Regions from separate parts of the Homo sapiens genome. Here regions 1 and 2 are each linked to region 3. Evidence: promoter capture Hi-C in human tissues and cell types (Jung and others, 2019). All regions are on one chromosome and are shown on one strand. The core of a region is centred on a gene start or on the middle of the fragment in contact, and the rest is flanking DNA. Distances in the headings are between cores, read along the strand shown. Region 1 overlaps KANSL1 (KAT8 regulatory NSL complex subunit 1). Region 2 overlaps LINC02210-CRHR1 (LINC02210-CRHR1 readthrough). Region 3 holds the start of MAPT (microtubule associated protein tau).

Evidence for each region. The method cuts DNA at HindIII sites, captures the fragments that hold promoters and counts their contacts. A contact is called where the count stands out against the background at its distance.
Region 1: a contact is called between a fragment that was not itself captured here and the fragment with the promoter of MAPT in region 3, in 1 of the 25 tissues and cell types used here (mesendoderm cells).
Region 2: a fragment that was not itself captured here is called in contact with the fragment with the promoter of MAPT in region 3 in 4 of the 25 tissues and cell types used here (dorsolateral prefrontal cortex, heart left ventricle, mesendoderm cells and 1 more).

What each region holds. Positions count from the first base shown.
Region 1 is chr17:46,044,399-46,047,486 of GRCh38, reverse strand. The region is part of intron 7 of KANSL1 (KAT8 regulatory NSL complex subunit 1); the gene reads left to right. Among named protein-coding and RNA genes, the nearest start is that of STH, 47 kb to the right of the region's middle. The HindIII fragment of the contact is 4,503 bases long and covers 1-3,088 here.
Region 2 is chr17:45,706,975-45,710,352 of GRCh38, reverse strand. All of the region lies in intron 3 of LINC02210-CRHR1 (LINC02210-CRHR1 readthrough), which reads right to left. Among named protein-coding and RNA genes, the nearest start is that of CRHR1, 76 kb to the left of the region's middle. The HindIII fragment of the contact is 5,336 bases long and covers 1-3,378 here.
Region 3 is chr17:45,892,838-45,896,037 of GRCh38, reverse strand. It overlaps MAPT (microtubule associated protein tau), which reads right to left and starts at 1,484. Exons shown (of 13, transcript NM_001377265.1): 1 at 1,352-1,484. MAPT-AS1 (MAPT antisense RNA 1) reads left to right here and starts at 525. Exons shown (of 2, transcript NR_024559.1): 1 at 525-558. It overlaps MAPT-IT1 (MAPT intronic transcript 1), which reads right to left and starts at 255. Exons shown (of 1, transcript NR_024560.1): 1 at 1-255. RefSeq lists enhancers at 1-655, 656-1,541. The HindIII fragment of the contact is 9,010 bases long and covers 1-3,200 here.

The DNA of each region.
Region 1 (3,088 bases), core at 589-3,088, 150 kb before region 3:
GCCATATGGTAAATATCTTAGGCTTTGCAGGCCATATAATTGATGTCAGTTCATGTCACAACTGCTCAACCCTGTCATTGTAGCACAAAAGCAGCCATAGACAATATGTGAACAAATGAACCTGATTGTGTTGCAACAAAAGTTTATTTATAAAAACAATCATTGCTAACCCTTGTCCTAGAGAGAATCCTTCTAATTGACAGTTGATCAAACATTAGATAACTATAATCCCCTGTTCTGCATCTGTTCTTCAAATGATTGCATTTCTGGCCACCTAAATCCAGTAGATACCGGGATTTTTGGCTTTTGTTACCAAAACCCCCTAGCTGTGATAAGGATGTGGTGTAATATTCCTGTGGCCATGTGATTTCTTGTAAGAGAAAGGAAACAGAAAACCTGGAACACATGGATAGTCAGGAGCTGGTGGAGCAATAAATAAACTTGAACACAATGAGTGGAAAACACTAAAACATTTTCCTCTGTGCTTCAGATTCCAGAGTCACTGACTTTTACCTTCCCTTGCCATTGGATTTATGTAGCCCATGTAACTGCAGTTACTATTTGTATAGCATTTTAAAGTTTGTAGTACTCTTCTCATATTTGTCTCATATGCTGCTTTCAAAATTCTTTTTTTTTTTTTTTTTTTACTTTTGAGACAGTTTTGCTCTGTCACCCAGGCTGGAGTGCAGTCGTGCAATCTCGGGTCACTGCAACCTCCGCCTCCCAAGTTCAAGCAATTCTCCTGCCTCAGCCTCCTGAGTAGCTGGGACTACAGGCACGCGCCACCACGCCCGGCTAATTTTTGTACTTTTAGTAGAGATGGGGGTTTCACCATATTGGCCAGGAGGGTCTTGAACTCCTGACCTCGTGATCCACCCGTCTTGGCCTCCCAAAGTGCTGGGATTACAAGCATGAGCCACCGCACCTGGCTTTTTTTTTTTTTTTTTTTTTTTTTTTTGACAGAGTCTCACTCTGTCACTCAGGCTAGAATGCAGTGGTGTGGTTTTTGGCTCATTGCAGCATCGGCCTCCCAGGATCAGGTGATTCTCCCACTTCAGTGGGTAGCTGGGACTACAGGTGCACACCACCATGCCTGGCTAATTTTTTGCATTTTTAGTAGAGAAGAGGTTTCCCCGTGTTGCCCATGCTGGTCTCAAACTCTTGGGCCCAAGCGATCTACCCATCTTGGCTTCCTAAAGTGCTGGGATTATAGGCATGAGCCACCATGCCCGGCCCAGAAATTTTGTAAGGTGTTACTTCAGTGTTAGTGCTCAAGGAACAGGCTTGGTAAGGTTGTGGCTTATCTAAAACTAAATGGCTAATGGGTTTGAATGCCTTCACAGTTCAGACCCAGATTATCTGATGCCTGTCCTTCCTTTTACTATATTTCAAGTTCCTTTCCAGACAGATTATTAAGAGGAGTCAGATTTTTACCCTTTTTGGGATTCTGGCTACAGACAGCGCCACTAGGAAGACTTAGGAATGTTTGTTGGGTTACTCTCTGAATTACTGTGTTGAATTGTATAGTCTCATACTTGAAGAAGGACAGGAAGCCCGGACACTTAAGCACACTCATTGGATATCACCTGCTAAACAGAACAGTCATTTCTTTGTCAACAGCATTACCACATACAGTTGCAAATAACCTCCCCCACCCTCAGATATACCCAGACTGTGTGTCTCTCAGCTCCTGTTCCATCATTCAGCATCTCTACTAAGAGGTTCCATTTCCCTTGAACATTTTCTGTCCTGCTGACTGCAGGACACTATAGATCTGACATGAATGCTGCCCTGCCGCATACCTTACACCTCCCACACCATCATTCAGAGCAACTACAGGCAGCAATGAGGGGGAATGGAAAGAAAGATAGGGAACACTCCCCCTTTTCTGGTCTTTATGGTTTTTATTTTCCTGCATCTAATCCTATTTGTTTTTCTGTCTATGTCTCACACACACACGAAGAGCTTCTAGCTATGGCCCTGGGGTTTGGACGAAAAAGTTGGTCATTAAATTCTCCTTATGAGACTGTGGAGATATATATATATTTTTACATGTAGGCTCTATTAACTACTGTATTTGCCTGTAGATTAATTACACCTCAGTTGGTTGACCTGAAGACCTGATTACCATGTCTAATATTATTCCTGTTGGAATAATTTTGCTTTGACCCAAACAACTGCCACATTCAGAATGCAGTCCATTTGGAAATCAGAAGATTCCCATGGGTGCAGAGATAGCCAACTCCAAAGGGCACCATTCACATAATATCCCGTGTAAATAACACACCCCCTGAAGTCTTGGGATTCCCTGTACATCATTGTATAGCAGTAAATAACAGTGAAGGCTAGCAGCTTGGCATACGACTGTGTAGGTCAAACATTTGTGTGGTAGATTTTACTACTGGGCCACCCTTACAACCTCTTCTCTAGAAGATGTTTTAAAGTGGCAGGATTTCCAACTTTTTTTTTTTTCATAACAAGGTTAAAAATGATTTTGATTCATTGATTCCATATAGTTACATTTATACCAGACATAAAGGCAGAAAATTGTTTGAATGTGATACTTAGCTGTTTTCTGGCCCCATAGGACAGATATTTTTTTAAGTAGTTTTAGTGCTGTTTCCTAACCAGTTTGTGTAGTTTGTTAGAATAACAACCAACTGCTGCTTTTCATCCTGGAGTTGTGCCTCGCACCTTGACTGTACCTCAGCCCCTCTCATTAAGTGTGTGTGGGTGATAGAAATTGAGGGACTGTGTTATAGCCAACTCTACGCCTGGCTGTGGAAGGTGGAGAGACTAGGGTATAATAACCTGTTAGTATTCCAGCAGGAAGGGGGCTTTGTTTTATCACCTCAAGTAATCAAATCCAGTTAATCCTTAGTTGGAAATGTAGAGGATATATAACCTTGGAGAAAAGCTTGTTAACTTTATAAAAGGGGCTTAATAAGAGCACCACCTGCTGGCCATGAAGATCTGTGGTATTTTGAGAGAGCTTGCCAAACCCTGCACATGAGGCTACAGCAACTTCCCAGCAGGAGGAAGAAGTGAGCATTACAAAACACCCGGAAAAAGTGCGCCTGAGAAAATG
Region 2 (3,378 bases), core at 354-2,853, 190 kb after region 3:
CTGTGCCTGTAAATAGAATAGTACTGCCTGCAGCACAGTGCCGTTGGGAGGTAAGGAATGAATGAGATGATCCCTGAAGAGGTCACTGTCCTCCTCAGGTACTAATCAGTGGTCATTTTCTTCCTTCTTCCTCTGACTTTAGGTTCCATCAGAACGGTGGGCCCTGCACTGCAGCCACCACATTCAGACTGAAATCAGTGCTGGTTTGGGCCTAGGGCAAGAAGAATTCCCAGCCTGAGCTCAGCAGGGAGGCCCTTTGTGCTGCCTAGAGGCCCCCACAGGGCAATCCAGCAGTGCCCCTGAGCCTGGCTTGTCCACCTAGAGGTAGAAATGGCCTTGATCAGGGGTCTCAGTGGTGCCAGAGCTGCAGTGCTCCGTGCTCTGGTGGGAGCTGGCGCAGTCTGTCTTCCCCATGCCAGGTTCCACTCCAGCCTGCCATTCCCAGGGGATCTATTAGCATCTCAAGACTCAAGTAAGGCTTGGTAAAGCAGGCTCCCTGTGTGGCAGTATTCACCGGAGACGCAGAGAAAGGGAGGTGGAGATTTGGAGAAAGCCAGCTCAGAGATCCAGGGAAAAGGGCTGGGGAGCACTCAGAGCATGATCTGCCCAAGTCCACCGGAGGAAACAGGCATTTGACTTGCTTTCCCAGCTACCATCTGCTGGGAAAGGTGCGGCAGGTAGAGTGAGGGGCCACAGTGACCCCTGATCAGTGAGGGGCATGGAGGCTGGACACCCAGGCTTGCCCAGCTCTGCCTCCTGCCTCAGTGGATGAGACCAGACCTCAGGGTACACTCAGATGCCCAGGATCCTGGCATCTTAGCACCTCAGTGAGGAACCCAGGAAAGCTAAAGATTCTCAAGACAGTGACCCAGGTGCCCTGTAGGTCATTCATTCCCAAACACTGAGTGCAAAGGCTTTGGAATTTGTTATATAAATTAGAACAGAGGCAAGGGTATCCCTGCAATGCAATTCTCAGGGTTCTCTGTTCTGATGATCTTTCTGGAAAAGGAATAAGGGTTTGCATTACAGCCCCTATAGGGGTACTGGAAGTGGCCCGGGCCCATGGAAAGGGCTAACATGTGCCCATTGTGGTTAGGAAAAGTGATCTGGAAGTCACTGATCTGGTCCAAAGTTCACACTCGAGTGAAGAAACCCAGAAAAGATAAAAGGTTTGGACAAAATCACACAGCAGGTTAGGGTGGAGCCTGGACCAGAAGCCCAGACCCCAATCCAATTCCTTTTCTGCTTCCTCATTCTCTCTGTACTCACTTAGTCACTGTGGGTCTCACTCTTCCCTTCTGTACAATGGGGATGATCACACATTCCTTCCCACTCTCAAGGCGGGAGCTCTCCACAGGAAGCAGACAAAGCAGGGTGAGATCAAGCAGGATCGCAGCTGTGCCCTTGCCTTGAGGCTGGGATGATCACCAGGCCCTGCAGCTCAATCCTGAGTCCTCCCTGGAGACTGGGAAAAGCCCAGCCGCACTCAGCCTGCTATTTGTCCAGCTTAACCTGCACATCTTCCTTGTAGAGCAGCAGAACCCTGATAAAAAACATTTCATTGAGATTTATTCTCCCCAGATCCCTGGGCTGGCTTTTATTTGGTCCACCTGCCAATCAGGAAATGCGCACTTTGGCAGTGGACACGGTGAAGTTGTAAGGCTCCTCTGCCACCACTCCCCCTCTCCTTCCAAGGGGGACCCAGCCAGAGTTCCCTGCCAGCCTGTGCCCTTGAGCCCATCTCTTAGGAGTTTGCATTTTAAAAGAGGAAACTGAGTGGGGGAAATGGCAGTTTCCAAAGGAACAGATGGCTCCTGGCAGAATATGAGGCTCTGGGACCCTGCAAGGAGGCAGGGGATGCATCCACCCAGGTGGGCAGCCACTCACTCTCTGATGCATGAGACCTCCCCAACTGCCACTGGCCACCTTGGCTCTGGTGTACTTTGCAACACTATGGTACCAACTTCACAGCCAAAGCTGCTTCTCATAGTTCTTGCCTGGGTAAAGAGCCAAGAGACCTGAATTCCACGCTGACCTTGACTATGTGATTTGGGGCAAAATACTCCTCTTCTCTAGACTTCTGTTTCCTCATCTCTCAGATTTGACCTGATGGTGGTTAAAGCCTTCTTGCCCCAAAGGCAAATGGCTGTGCATGTCTACAAGGATCTTTATGTGCCCAGGAAAGACCTGAGGGGGTGTGTGATGTTTGTCCTGTTGACCAATTGGAAAGCAAGGCATGAAAAATTACCAGAAATAAGTGGCAATACAAGACGACCCTACAAAGGCCATCTATCACCAGACAGTTTACATGAAGGGTCAGGGAAGCTGAAAATAACCAGGAAGAGACATAAGAATGAGAGGAAGAGAGGAGGGGAGATGGAAGGGCTGGAGTGATCAAGGCAGTACCCCGGCAGGAGATGGGGCAGAGCTGAGCTTGGAAGGATGGATAGGATTTGAATCAATGGAAATGAGTTGGCCAGGGAGAGGACATGAGCAGAAGTAGGCACTGGTGAGTGGGTGAGTCGGGCTGGAGTGAAGAGACCACAAAGATAAAGCTTATAAGATGACAGCAAGAATGAGGGGGGAAAAGAGAAAAAGAAATTTAAAAAAATAAGATACAGCCTAAAGTTCAGGCAGGGTCACTGTGGAAACAGCCCTTTTATTTTTCTCCCTGAATCCACACTGGGAGCCCTGGTCTGCAGGATGGTCTTAGGACTTGTGCCTGAGTCCTAGCCATTTGGCCTTCCCTGCCCAACTGCCTTCCTAGATCCATACTCCTTTCTGCTGGCACTGAAGAGGGAAGCCCTCCCGTCATGTACCATGCGACTTTGTCCCCTCTAGGCTACAGGAGATGGATGAGAGGTGAGCAAGTGACTCTCCCATCCATAGGCTGATTCAAGGGCATTAGAAATGCTTTCTCTTTTGAGAACATTGAGACACACAGAAATCCATAGTCAGGAATGGAGACTGAAACCAAACAGGGGGAAAAGACAGTGGCCGCTAAGTTGGACCTTATGAAAAGTGAGTAGGCTGACGGGGCCCAGGAGAAGGGCTCCCTGCTCATCCAGCTCCAGCCTCCAAAAGCCCATTCCACAGCCTTGAGGCTGCCTGTTTGTCATCTTTGACAATCAGCAACACCCCTTCACTCAAGGCAGCGCAGTGGGTCGCAGTTCCCTGTAACAAGCACGGCTTGAGCAGACTATAGCTCACACCCGGGCAACTAGCCTGAGAATTGTGGCCACGAAAGGCAGAAGCTTCCCTAGTCCCTGGTGCCTCTGAATTAGCATCAGAACAATCTCCACAGAGGCCCTGCCTGTCTCCCACCCCAAACTCCTTGTTCCTCTGGGCCTTTGCCAGTGCGGTTCCCTGCATATCTAG
Region 3 (3,200 bases), core at 235-2,734:
CCCTCAGAATAAAAGCCAGAAACCAGGGCTGGGAGCGCAGATCACGTAACCTCTACAGACAAAGCAAAGAGCCCCCGAAGAAGGTGCTGGGCGAACGCCCCCAGTGCTCACGCCCGCAGCAGCAAAACGCCAAGATTTCAGCGCTGATTGTCCCCCTCCCTTTAATGCCAGGCCCCGCCCTGTCCTATGAAGCCCGGCCACCCGGTTTGGCATGGCACCGTAAAGACGTGACACGCCGAAAAAAGATGGCACCTCGCGTTCCGAGGGGGAAAAAAAGGGGGGCTGGGGGCGGGAGTGGGAGGAGGCACAGCCTATCCTCCCCCTTCCTCGCCCACCAGGGTCCACACCCACTGCCGCAGTGAGGGGCGAGCCCTGCGCGCCAGCCCCGCGCCTCCGGCAGGGAGCGCACACGCCGGGCGCCCTGCGCTCCGAGCGCTGAGAAAGAAATCCGCCCCGAGATGCACCTGCAGCCCCGCGCCCATCCGTGCGTGGCTGCGGCTGTGCGTGCCCGCGAACGGGGACCAGCGGCCGCCGAGTCCGTCCACATCGCCAGGCCAGGTGAACCCTGCCTTTGCGAGCGTGCACAGTGGGATCCGCGCACTGTTCTCAGGCACGGCGCTGCTCGCGTCTCTGTGCCAGGCGTGCGCAGGGGGAAGGGCAACTAAAGTGACAGCGCGTGGACCCCTCCCCATCTCCTCGATTTCTCCCAGCCCCCAAATGTCCCCTACGGGTTTCTGAAGGAGGAAAAGGGGAGGGGGCCGGCCCCCGCCTAAAATCAGGGGCAGTGAAGGCCCTGTCGGAATCACTGCTCGGGAGGTGCAGGGAGGGGCGTGCAGGGAGTCATCTTTTCTAGAACCCGATCCACGTCTTTCTTAGAGCTGATGGCGAACAGCGGCAGGGACAGCGGATTTCAGATTCGGTTTCGGGGGTCGTTATCGGACCCCTCCACACACACACACACACACACACACACACACACACACACACACGCCCATTGCGGCAAAAGGCTGCAGTCGAGAGTGAAGGGCAGCCCCCTCCCCCAAGTCACCGCCGCCGCGCCCCACCCTGCCGGCACAGCCTCCACCTGGGGTCTGCGCGAATCTGGTGGTGAAGACCCTCCAGCACACACACACGCGCGCACTCACGCGTGCGTGCATCCCTTGCTCAGGTCCCTTTCCAGGCCGCCCTGGCCCCAGCCCCCGAGCAGGGGAGGCAGGGAGGGGCCCTGCGGTGGCCCCGACCGATGCCCGGCGCACGAAGCCCCAGTCTGCGGAGAGGGAGGGCGAGGGGCGGCGGCGCAGGGGTGCACAGAGGCGGACGGCGAGGCAGATTTCGGAGCCGCGGCGCTTACCTGATAGTCGACAGAGGCGAGGACGGGAGAGGACAGCGGAGGAGGAGAAGGTGGCTGTGGTGGCGGCGGCAGAAGGTGGGCGGTGGCAGCGGCGCTGCTGTTGGTGCCGGAGCTGGTGGGTGGCGGTGACTGCGAGGGCGCGCGCCGGCGAAGAGGGCGCGTTCCTGAGGCCGGCGGGCGGCGCAGGCGCGAGCAGCGGGAACGCGAGCCTCCCCAGGGGAGGGGGCGGGCAGCGCGGCCTCCGCGGGAGCCTTCTCCTCCGGCCACTAGTGGGCGCGCGCGAGCGCCCTGCCGCTCGGCCGTCCGGCGTCTCCCGGCTCGTTCCTCTCGGCGCTGCCCTTTCGCGGTCCCCCTCCCGCTACGCCTCAGGCCGCGGCGCTGACCGCAGCGCGCACGCGCGTTCCGTGGCGCACGCGCTTTCTCCACCTCCTGTAGTTGGAGTCTTTGTGTCGTTGCGGGGGTGGGTGTCCTCCTTCGGGCCATGCGGGGTCGGGGCAAGGCCAGTGGCTCCGCCGCTGGGTCCGCTGCCCTTTACTTTCAGTCAGCCTGGGGCGGTGTCCTCTCCTACAGAAGTCCTGAGCGGCCTTCCACGTGGCCGGCCCTCGAGTCCGTCCGCCCCGACCCTTCGTAGTCCCGAAACCGCCCCCCTGGCTAAGGTCTCTTTCCCCCAGGCTGCTTCCTTTCTCCTTGCTTTTTTCCCACCTTTTTTGTTACTGACCAAGGTGAATCCTTTCCTTAACAAATCGGCTTAAAGCAAGCTAACTCAGTTACAATACAGTAGAACTGTACTTAAAAAAAAAGAAACGTGAATCTAACCGTTACGTCAGAAAAAAAAATCTTAAATTAGACGAATTTCAAACAGTGCTTAACACATCGCAGAGCATTTGCAGTTATTTGTATCACGTCTTTTGAAACACCTTTATGCTGTAAATAGAGCTTGAAGTCTGAATGTTTAAGGGCCAGCTAGAGATTGTCCCCTGGAAGACGCACCTCAGCCTGAAACTGACCAGTGGTCCTCATTCTGCTGGTCGCCCAGGCCCCAGGCTTCGGCCTTAGCTTGGATTTTTCATTTCCCCAACATCAAGTTTAAGCCCAAGCAGTGGGATGATTTCTATGTAGGGGGGTTTAGGGCAGCCATCTCCTCCTAGGGAGATGGGAAGTTGTCTTGAAGCTCCAATTTGCATAGCTCTTATATTCTTTTTAAAAAATCAACATATGTTATAGATTAATAGAAAAAGCAAGTAAAATGCTTTATTCACACAGTTTCTGGAACTGACCTTTTTCTCCTTTTTTTTTTTAAATGCATATTAACTTTATTTTTAAACAGAGGGGCATATACCCAAAGAAGTAGGAGTGAGAACCACCATGGGGGCTTGCTCAAAGCAATCTGCCCTAGCCTTCTGACTACAGAATGTCTCATGAGCCAATGGCCTGGAGATGGAGCTGCCCCTTGATGGTGTACACCTTAGAAAAGTCAGTGGAATTGACCTTTTTTTGGAGACAAGGTCTTGCTCAGGCTGGAGTGCAGTGGCACAATCGTAGCTCACGGCAAGCTTGAACTCCTGGGGCTCAAGCAATCTTCCCACCTCAGCCTTCTGAGTTGCTGGGACTACAGGTGGGCACCACCACACCTGGCTAACTTTTTTTTTTTTTTTTTTTTAGAGAGGAGGTCTTGCAGTGTTGCCCAGGCTGCTTTCTAACTCCCACCTCAGCCTCCCAAAGCGTTGGGATTACAGGCATGAGCCACTGCACTCAGCCTGGAATTGACTTTTTGTTGTTGTTGTTCTAACTGCCACCATCCTAGTTCAAGACCTCTATCTTGGTTCTGGACATGTAGGGACCTTAGTGA